Regions from separate parts of the Homo sapiens genome. Here region 2 is linked to region 1. The links are contacts of gene promoters, found by promoter capture Hi-C in blood cells and fetal thymus (Javierre and others, 2016). All regions are on one chromosome and are shown on one strand. Each heading gives the region's core, a stretch centred on a gene start or on the middle of the fragment in contact. The rest is flanking DNA. Distances are from core to core; before and after follow the strand shown. Region 1 holds the start of PRR20A (proline rich 20A). Region 2 holds the start of LOC105370216 (a long non-coding RNA gene).

Region 1 (5,632 bases), core at 2,822-5,321:
GTCTGGGCTCACTGCAACCTCCGCCTCCTGGGCTCAAAGGATTCTCCCGCCTCAGCCTCCCGAGCAGCTGGGACTACAGTGGCCCACCACCATGCCTGGCTAATTTTCCTATTTTTATTAGGGCGAGACATGAGAATCGCTTCAGTCCCGGGAATGGAGTTCTCAGTGAGCCGAAGCCACCGCGCTCCAGCCTGGGTGAAAGAGTGAGAGTCTGTTTCAAAATAAATAAATAAATAAATGAACGAATAAATAAACCAGGAGGAATTACCAAGGGCTCTTGGTGCCTGCCTGCAGTCTGAGCTACTTGGCAACCTGATGTTGGAGGATCACCCGAGCTGAGGAGGCGCAGGCTGCGCTGAGCTGTGATTGCACCACTGCACTCCAGCCTGGATGACGGAATGAGACCCTGTCTTACTCCACGTACCAATGTTTAGTGAAGCATTCTGGTGGTAGAAATATCCTGGAAGTAGCGTATCAGCAGACCACCACCTGCATAATGTAAAAGCTGTGCATCTTTCCAGACAGATATACAGCAAGAAGATAGTGGCACATGTGCGTAGGATGACTGCAAGGGGGCTTTCTGGCTTATGGATGACAGACCCCAATGGCAAGCCAAGAAGCAGCTCCCACTGCACAGTGCTCATTGTGCTCCATGCCATGCTTCAATACGAAGTCGCCTGTTCCTAGTTTGGAGACGCACGGACTCCACAGAGGCTCTGGTCCTGACCACACCTGTGTTGCCTGCCTGGACCTTATAGTCACTTCAGCAGGACCCCTGGCGCATGGCACGCCAGGTGTTTGTAAAAGCGAGCCACAAACGATGCTCTCAATGTACACGTTTGTTGGTGTAGACTTGTGTGACTATGGGGAAAGATGCGATATGAATGGAGAACAGAGACTGGAGCCATTTTTCTACCTTCCTTTCTGCTTTTAGTAAACACATTTTGTATTTGCGATTTGTGAAAGTTTAGTGAAAGAACTGTTCTATAAAATAAGTCTGAAGAGAAAGGTTTATTTAGAAGGATTGAGTACACAAGAGAAAAATCTTTGATGTAAAAAGTTATCTGTATTTTATTTGGACGTTTACAAAGGAGTGAAAACCAGCCAACAACAGCCTACCTAATAAAATACAAAATACAAAAGTTCATAATACAACATTTATCAAACTCTGAAAAGATGGGAACTAACTCAACTTAAACATCTAAGAGACACCTACAGCCAACATCTTGGTTAATGGTGAAACATTCAAAATATTCCCATTAAAGCCAGGAGGAAGCCAAGGACACTGCCGTCAAATTACTGATTCCTGGTTTAGCGGTTCCAGTGAGTCATGCACTCTCCTTGCTTCCGTTAACCGCCCCCCCCCCCACCCCAACACCTTTTGTCTGATTCGTCACATGTCCTTTGATCCCCTTTTTCCTCAATCTGTTTGAAATTTTACCTTCTATTCCAATTCATTTAGTGGTTCCCAAAGGGTACCCACGTTGAGACTTAAAAATGTGTCAGTCTAGATTTTTATTGCTCTTATATTCAGCCAGTCTATCGTCTCCAGGCACTAGAGAAGCACTTTAGTAACTTCTAGCTCCTTCTGAGTTTTCGCATGTCCCACATGTCTATATGAGTGTCTTCTGGAATTTTAATTCTAGGTCATCAATCCTTTTTCCAGAATCGTACTTCTCTGGACTTAAGAATACAGTTTCCTAATTTCCATGCTTAGTGATCCTTGTTGCATCCCACTTCTTCCAGGTTGTCTGGGTTGGCTTCTTCTTGGCTGAAAAACGTGACGTGTACTTTCACTGTACATGACAGTTCCATTCCAATCGCCTTGTACAGAAAGGGTGTTTGGCAGCTTGCATGTTGTAAGTTGCGTACTCCAAGTTCAGGGGAAGCTCAGGCTTCAGGTCCAGTCGGGGGAGGAGTGGAGCAGAAGTGGGGCTGGGGGGAACGTCCAGGTGGAAGGAAGGGAGGCTGGGAACAACGTGGGTGGCAGATAGTGGTCAATACGCAATGTCGGTGAGGAACACTGGGACCCCTTGCACGTAGGTGCCCTGGGGGGTTTGAATGACTTGTAAAACCGCTGAGTCACCCAGAGCCCTAAACCCGATGCAGGGATAGAGGGTCAAGACGGGTTGCCAGTCAACAGCCTGAGGCCCAGGAGCAGCGGGCGGCTCCTGAAACCCCAGCTCAGGTTGCGCCACGTCGGGGCCAGGGCCTTCCTGCACAGTTCCAGGCGGAGGACCTGTTTCAGAAAGGGAGAAGGCTGCGGTCTCCGTGATTTCCGGTTCCCCCTGGTGGCCTGGCTCTCCATGGTGGTCCAGTTGGATGTGCACGTCCGGTGCCATCAAGCCTTCTGCCCCCTGTCTCTGGCCAGCGTCCCCGCGGGGCCCAGCCCTTCTGCCACGGCCTCGCCCTGGCCGCCGGCTTCCTCCCCGGCGCCGGCCTCTCTCTGCAGGAGGGGGTGACTCTGGGCGAGCTGGGGGCTGCCGTCTGAAGGGTTTCACGTAAGCGATGGGTTTTGCGGGTTGGGCTGGCTGTGCGGGCCCATCTGCTTCCACGGAGCCTTCAGGGTCCGCAACACAGCAGCCTGGCTCTGGAGGAGGCCCACCTGAGGCTAAAAGAGAAGCGGAGCGTGAGCAGAGAGAGACAGAAGGAACTTCACCCGTCAAGCAGTTATAGGATACTTTTACAAATAAATACTCAGAGAAAAGAGGGATTTCTGAAGTTAAAATTGTGAGAGAAGAAACAAAACTCTCCACGGAAGTTGGAGAATGAAGTTGAGAAGGTCTCCCACAGAACAAAGCAAAAACCTAAAATGATGGAAAGAAGGATGAAATATAAGAGAATTAGAGGTATGCTGTGGCTGAGACATTTCACCAGAAAATTTCAGAGTGCTGAGGAAAAAGAGAAGATTCTAACAGATTCTAGAGAGCGGGAGACAGAGAAAGGAAAAGTCACATGGAAAGGGCTAGGATTCCACATGTCTCAAAAGTCAGACATCTCAAAAGCAGCAGTTCAGTCTAGAACATAACAGAAAATGTCTTCGAAATTTCAAGGGAAATGAATTTCCCACCTAAAATTTCCTGTCCAACCGAAGTTTCGCTGAAGAATCTGGGAGGGGAGAATGAAGATGTTTCAGACAAGCAAGATGTTAAAGAATTTCCTTTCAGTGGATGCTTTATTGTTATGCATCTGTCAAACTAGACAAGATTAAAAGATTTAGGACACTCAGCGTATGAAGGGAAAAGTTTTGGAGAACAACGTGGCAACAGCCGGAAAATTCCAACTCCTCCGGGAAAGAACAAGGTGGAAGTACCGGTTTATCATAGATCAAGACGTAGCGTGAGGACTCGCTCTGCTACGGAGAAACAGTAATACAAAACTAAACAGAAGGAAACAGCGACAACAACAGCAAATCTCAGATTTGGGAAATGGGATTACGGTTCGGAAGAGGGAAAGGAATTTCCCAGATGATGTGGAACCCGGGAGCTGACTTCCAACAAGCAGCCCAGGTTGAGGCAGGCTAGGAGAAGGTGAAACAGAGAATGCTTGATTGAGTTTGAGTGTCAACCATTGGGGAAGAATTGGGGAACAGACGAAATTAAAAAGAGAGGAGTGGCAGGCGTTTGATGTACCTTGATTAGGGGCCATGGAGCGAAGTCGCTTCGAAGGCCTTGGTTCCTCCATGAGCAATCGGCGGGAGGGGCTGGGGAGAAAAACAAGAGAGCAAGAACGGATTTAGGAAGACAGAGGTGACAAGGCAGGGGGATGGCCGTGGCCTTTCTAGGGGAATGAGGATTCTGTCCCCAACTGCACCCACCCGAGATCCGTCCACGCCTCCGGGACCCCCAGACACACACCTGATCTTCCCACAGCTGGCTCCGGAGATCTGAAAATTAGGAGACTCTTCGACGAAGAGAGGCCCGAGGAGTCGGAGGTGTCCACAGGTTCACCGCTGTAGCTCTGAGGTAGTCCACCCGCAGCCAGGGAGTCTGGAGGGAGCACGCAGCAGGTTCTGGCTCCGAGCCCAGCAGAAAGCCGACTGCTGGAGGCCGAGCGCCGTCCCTCTTATATGGCAGCAAGGCAGTCGCGTAAGGGACAGGCGTCGTCAGAGGGGGGCCGGCTGGGGCGGGCCTGGCTGGGCTTGCGAGGCGCATTGGGCCAGTCCCCTGCCAGTCAAATGGGGGCCCTTCTGAGATGCCGCCATTTCTAGACGTCCGTGGTTGATTGATTAATCTAATCATCGAGGAAAAAAAATTGCATAATGACCTCTGAGTGTCAGCACAATGAGGTGTGGTGCCCTGAAAGCGGCTGACAGGAAGATGCGATTAGCTTAGATCTGAGCATGGTCAAGGAAAGCATCCAAAGCGGGGATATCTGGGCTGAAATCTGGAACATAACGTTTGAAATTAGTCATCCTGAACCGGGTTGGGAGAGGCAGGGAGGGAGGAAGGGGAGTGAAGAGAGTGTGCTGAGGCCCGGACTGGAAGGGAGCCCGGCACATTCTGGGAATGGACGGGAGGCCAAGTCCAGGCCCGGAGGTGGTGCGTGTGAGACGGGGCTGGAGATGCGTGTGAGACCCACACCGCTGGCTTTTATTGCTGTGGGTGCACTCACGGGTGGAGGAAGACAGCGGGAAACACAGCAGGACGCTGGAGGGGATCCCACAGTGGGTTATTTGGTTGGTTTGCATCCTTGTGTTTTTTACAGAGACTGGTTCTCGCTCTGTAGCCCAGGCTGGAGTGCAGCGGTGCCATCTCGGCTCGCTGCGGCTACTTGGGGGGGTTGGGGGGGGGTGGCTGAGATAGGAGAATCAGTTCAAGTGATTCTCCTGTCTCGGCCTCCGGAGTAGCTGGACTACAGGTGAGCGCCACCACATCGGGATAATTTTCGGATTTTTTTGGAGAGACGAGTTTTCGCTATGTGCCCAGGCTTGTTTGGAAGGCCTGAGCTCAAGCCGTCCGTCCCGCTCAACCTCCCGAGTCGCTGGGACCCCAGGCGCAAGCCACCATGCCGGGCCAATTACTTTTTTGGGTTGTATTTCCTGTTGAAGTGAGGTTTTGCTATGCTTTCACCTCACATACCTTTTCTGTCCCAAGACCCCATCCAGGGTACCACCTTACAACTCGTCACGGTTCCCCTTGGCTGCGACGGTTTCTCACACTTGCCTTGTTTTTGATGACTCTGACACTTTGAATACTGATCAGATATATTGTGGGATGTCCTCTCCTGAAGTTCGTGTGATGTATTCCTTGTGATCTGACTGGAATTATATGTTTTTGTCAGGAAGATTGCAGCGGGAAAGCGCCATTCCCATCCCATCCTGTCTAGAGTACACACCATCAAGCCGGCTTATCACTGCTGCTATTAGTCCTGGTCACCGGGCTGGGGCAGTGTTGATTAGGTTTCTCCACCATAAAGTGATTTTCCCACCTCTTTCTCTACTGTGCTTTCTGGAAGTCGCTACCTGTAGCCTATACGTAAAGAAAAGGGAAGTTTTGCTTTATCTCCTTGCAGGGGAATAGCTACCTAAGTTCTGTGGAGTTCTCCTGTGTGGAGGATTTTCCCATTCTCCCCCACATGTTTGTTTATTTAATCACTTATTTATATCCGTATGGACTTATGGACACCTATT
Region 2 (5,574 bases), core at 2,833-5,332, 75 kb before region 1:
ATGATATCTCATAGTGGTTTTGATTTGCATTTCTCTGATGGCCAGTGATGATGAGCATTTCTTCATGTGTTTTTTGGCTGCATAAATGTCTTCTTTTGAGAAGTGTCTGTTCATGTCCTTCGCCCACTTTTTGATGGGGTTGTTTGTTTTTTTCTTGTAAATTTGTTTGAGTTCATTGTAGATTCTGGATATTAGCCCTTTGTCAGATGAGTAGGTTGCGAAAATTTTCTCCCATGTTGTAGGTTGCCTGGTCACTCTGATGGTAGTTTCTTTTGCTGTGCAGAAGCTCTTTAGTTTAATTAGATCCCATTTGTCAATTTTGTCTTTTGTTGCCATTGCTTTTGGTGTTTTGGACATGAAGTCCTTGCCCACGCCTATGTCCTGAATGGTAATGCCTAGGTTTTCTTCTAGGGTTTTTATGGTTTTAGGTTTAACATTTAAATCTTTAATCCATCTTGAATTGATTTTTGTATAAGGTGTAAGGAATGCGGAGAAATAGGAACACTTTTACACTGTTGGTGGGACTGTAAACTAGTTCAACCATTGTGGAAGTCAGTGTGGCGATTCCTCAGGGATCTAGAACTAGAAATACCATTTGACCCAGCCATCCCATTACTGGGTATATACCCAAATGAGTATAAATCATGCTGCTATAAAGACACATGCACACGTATGTTTATTGCGGCACTATTCACAATAGCAAAGACTTGGAACCAACCCAAATGTCCAACAATGATAGACTGGATTAAGAAAATGTGGCACATATACACCATGGAATACTATGCAGCCATAAAAAATGATGAGTTCATATCCTTTGTAGGGACATGGATTAAATTGGAAACCATCATTCTCAGTAAACTATCGCAAGAACAAAAAACCAAGCACCGCATATTCTCACTCATAGGTGGGAATTGAACAATGAGATCACATGGACACAGGAAGGGGAATATCACACTCTGGGGACTGTGGTGGGGTCGGGGGACGGGGGAGGGATAGCATTGGGAGATATACCTAATGCTAGATGACACATTAGTGGGTGCAGCGCACCAGCATGGCACATGTATACATATGTAACTAACCTGCACAATGTGCACATGTACCCTAAAACTTAGAGTATAATAAAAAAAAAAAAAAAAAAAAGAAAACTGGCAACTGAATACTCAAACAGAGCAAACACAAACCCTATGGAATTGGGTAGTGGATATTTGGAAGGAATGTTTCTTTTAGCCAAGACCAAGTTTTGGAAACAAACTGACAACACTAACTGCCTTTTAATAAAAATCATTTCACTGCCTCAATATGCGTGGCAAACGGCTGCAAGTGTCAGGTTCAGATAAGCTGAAAGCAAGATGGCTGAAAGGTACATTTTCTAATCAACTTCCTGAATTATCTTTGACTCCTGGTATGGCCTCACATGTGACTTAATTATGAAGCATAACATGCAATATTTTCATAACAAAAAATGAAAATTGGTCTTTTAATTCTTTGGAAATGGTTCATGATGTTATCCTTGCCCTGTTACTTCAATGAATTTCGGATATATTCTTCCCCTTAAACTTTGTCTTCTGACTAAAAAGTAGCAGACACCAATTTTTGGTGACATCACTCTATTCTGTGTCCATTACGCACATTTTGCAATTTTTCAAAATTATGTACTTCAGTAGCTAACATATTTTTTTTTTCTTGAGGCCATAGTTCCGTAAAGTTTTTAAAATACATTTTATCTGGTACATGGCCAAAGTGGTTTACTTTTTTAAAAAATCTGGAGAGTAAAGACATAGAACTTCAAAATAACATGCAGAGGTGTGTTTATTAAGAGTATGATGGAAAAATATGGTTTAGATTATGTTTCTTTCCTGCTCTATATGGTAAAAATTGTAGAGGTTTCACATGTATTCTAATCTTTCTTTTTCCTTGTTCCATTTCATTCTATTCTTCCTTCTTTGGATCTTTCTTTCTCTTTCTGAAAGACATACTTAGACCAAGAAAAGACATAATATAGAATCTGTATTTCCAAAGCTGGACCTAGTACTGAGAAATTTATGCATAGAAAGATGACTAAGAGCATTTTAGGAAAAGGTATGAGTTCAGAATTTAAAAAGCTTGGCTGGTTCAAGAAACTAAAAGAAGGCCAGTATAAATGAGAGTTTTAACTGATAAAATTTTAGCCATTAAATTTTGATGTAACTGTAAATGATAAAATATGGAGAGGAGAAAAATGATACACAAGTAATTGAATTCCTCAGTGGATGTCAGGGGAGTGATTGAGAAGTAAATGGGTGAAGGCAGTTAAGAAGGGATGAGAATAGTTTAGCCCTGAGTAATGCACAGTAAAAAAGAAATTTTGATCTGATGGTTTCTGTGGTTGATTGTGGTCGTGTCTTTTAGGACACTAATGATCCATATGTGGGAACTGTAGTATACCACTTTACCGCCCAAACACTGGTATATGAAACAACAGAAATAGTTTCAGACTGATGGGGTTATAGGAGAAGTATTGCCCAATTGACAGCTGTTTTCCGTAAAAGCAAAGAAAGAAAATGTAATTTAAAATATTATAGATCTAGACATATAGAAAAGTTTACTATAATAATAATAAAGTAGTGAAAGGTATGAAGAAAGCAGTGAAAGATGGAGGATTGGATTGGACTGAGAAATGTTTAGAAAAAATATTTTAGGTTGGATTGAAGGGATGGTTCTTCTGTCAGGGACTGGGGTTGGCATAACTTTGAGGAAAAATGAACTAATTTTGCCAGTCTGAGATGATAAAGGATAAACGGGCCGATTGCTATGTCCCTAATAAATTCCCTCAGCTATAGCGGCATCTATATAGAGGCTCTTTAAAGCTTCATGATACTCATACACAGAAAATAACTTCTTAATGTTTTTTGTTTCCGAACTGGTTATTTCAGTGAAGGTTAAATGCTGATAAGTGTTGTTTATAACAATAAAAAAATCATAGAAATCAAAAGACTCAAAGCAATGGGTTTCTCATGATGTATATTCACAGTCTAAACAGGCAGTGTATTAATTTTCTAGGGCTGGCTTAACAAAATACTGAAGATTATGTGGATTAAACAATGTGTTTAATTTATCATAATTCTGGAGTCTGAAAATATGAGATCAAGGTGTTGGCAGGGCTGTTGGTGTTTTGTTTCTTCTTTACTTGGCTTGCAGATGGCCATCTTCTCACTGTCTCTTCACATGGTCATCTCTGTTTCTGCACGTGTGCCTGCTGTCTCTCTGTGTATCCAAATTTCCTGTTTCTATAAGGGCACCAGTGGCATTGGACTGGGACCCACCCTAAAGACCTCATTTTAACTTAAGCACTCCTTCAAAGACACCGTCTCCAAACATGGCCACACTCTGAGGCACTGGAGGTTACGACCTCAACATATGAATTTTGGGGAGAAGCAATTCAGCCTCAAACAGAAGGATGAGGTTGATATGATTCTATTTAACCGTCATTCCATATGGGTGCCTTTTATAACGGTAGAATTTTTTTTTTTTTTTTTTTGACGGAGTCTCGCTGTGTCACCAGGCTGGAGTGCAGTGGAGCGATCTTGGCTCACTCCGCCTCCCAGGTTCAACCCATTGTCCTGCCACAGCCTCCTCAGTAATTGGGACCACCAGCGCGCGCCACCACACCCAGCTAATTTTTGTGTATATATTTCTTTTTTTAGCAGGGGCGGGGTTTCACCATGTTAGCCAGGATGGTGTCCATCTCTTGACCTCGTGATCCGCCTGCCTGCGCCTCCCAAAGAGCTGGGATTACAGGCCTGAGCCACCGCGCCCGGCCGTACAGTTTGTATTCTAACACCAACTCATAAGGTAGGTGATGTGCAAAGACTGCAATATATCTAAGGAGGGTGCCACTATTGCAGTTGATATTTTGCTCTCTTAGCACTTCCAGAAAATGCAGCAGGAAGTATAGGCAACTTGCATAGACAGAATATGTGGTGTTTCATTTATTATAGCCAAGATAAAACTGTAAACAACTTCGAGAGTGTGTGTATATATAAATATACACATGTAATTCAACCTATCATAGTGTTAAAGAAAAATAGAACATAAAAAGGAAGTAAAATTTGAAGAAATGTAATATATATACAACAGAAATATCATCTTCACTGTATAATCGTAAATTATTTTTGTTTTATCATAATACAATATTGTGTTTACATTTAGTAGAGGGTAACATTTGGGCATAATTTCAACTCTGTGTAAAAATTCTAATACCACCTCACATCTCATGTTAAAATTTCTTATATAACATTATTTTTATTGCTTGGTACTTTAAAAACAATATCCATACTTTCAGGTAAAACTTAAAGGTAAAACAAGCAATGAAAATAGAACAATAATTTTAAAAAATCCTACCTGATCTCATCATCTATGTAAAACACTTTTCACCCAAAAGTTATTTTCTCTAAACTTTAAGTGATTTCAGCACACTCTTGGTTGCCTACTTACTATTTCTTTGAAGTTCACATATAAATCCATTTACCTTGAGTATAATAATCGATAATCAAAATGAATGACCTGAGTTGGGAACATAGAACCTTTGTAGCTCTGCATAGCCAGTCAAATTAAATTCCATCAGTACTAAAACAAACAAAAATAAGACTATTGGAACTAAATTCTTTCTTATTATTCACTAATTCATTTGTTCAAACCATGCTTGCCTTTCTTCTGCATGTTCCTTGTAATACTTCTTTCTTGCATATTCTACCATATTAGACTTTTGCAACTTTGAACTTCTTGTCTCCCCACTCACCCTTGCACCACACCAAGAATATAAAATCTGAATACGTTTTAAAAAATTATTCCTATTTTATTGCTCAACTAGAACATATTATCTCATTTTAGTCACAAAAGACTTGCACATATGTTGTATATACTCCAAAAAAAAAAAAAAAAGAAAAACTTTTAAGTTTTCCTGATTCTCATCACTCACAATCTAGGTAACAAATCAGTCTTCCTGACCAAAGATGGATATGTTGCCAGATATATGAATTATCTCCACTAGTTTTTCTGTAGTATTTACTTCTCGTGCAGGTATCAGTTGTGTGTCATATTACTTTCCTTTTGTTCTGTCTTCGACAGCTCTTAAAAATCATATTATTATATCTACCAAAGTATTTTTCATGTTTTGCTTTCCCTCCTTTTCTTTAATTTTATTTTCTAATACCTTTGGTGTTCTGCATGTAATTTTTATCTGCTTTCTTTTCACTGGAAACTTTTTCAGTTTTAGCACATATTTACCTTAAGAATTAAAATATACCACAATCCTGAATGGTAATTTAAGAGAAGCTTAAGATAAATTAATGATCAATTAATATGTGATTTAAGTCATTGGTATTGCTGTGAAATTATTACTGGTAAAAAACCAATGCAGCCAATGTTCATCAAAGACACTGATATTTTAAAAATTTAATTCAGATTACCCTTAAAATTGTGTGTTTATGTTCCAGGGTTCATAATAATATTTATATATGTTTTCTCAAATCAGCATTTAAGATTCATAAATACTTATAATTCAGTGAAATTTTTAATTAGGATTTTTAGGAGCTT

Evidence for each region. Contacts are between HindIII fragments. The CHiCAGO score rates a contact against its expected background, and 5 or more counts as called.
Region 2: a contact is called between a fragment that was not itself captured here and the fragment with the promoter of PRR20A in region 1, in 4 of 17 cell types (fetal thymus, total B cells, M2 macrophages and 1 more). The highest score is 9.1, in fetal thymus.

What each region holds. Positions count from the first base shown.
Region 1 is chr13:57,139,357-57,144,988 of GRCh38, reverse strand. PRR20A (proline rich 20A) reads right to left here and starts at 4,071. Exons shown (of 3, transcript NM_198441.2): 1 at 3,858-4,071; 2 at 3,633-3,703; 3 at 1,050-2,611. The coding sequence starts at 3,684. The coding sequence ends at 1,998. The HindIII fragment of the contact is 41,430 bases long and covers 1-5,632 here.
Region 2 is chr13:57,214,888-57,220,461 of GRCh38, reverse strand. LOC105370216 (a long non-coding RNA gene) reads left to right here and starts at 3,732. Exons shown (of 2, transcript XR_941982.1): 1 at 3,732-3,831. The HindIII fragment of the contact is 2,467 bases long and covers 2,849-5,315 here.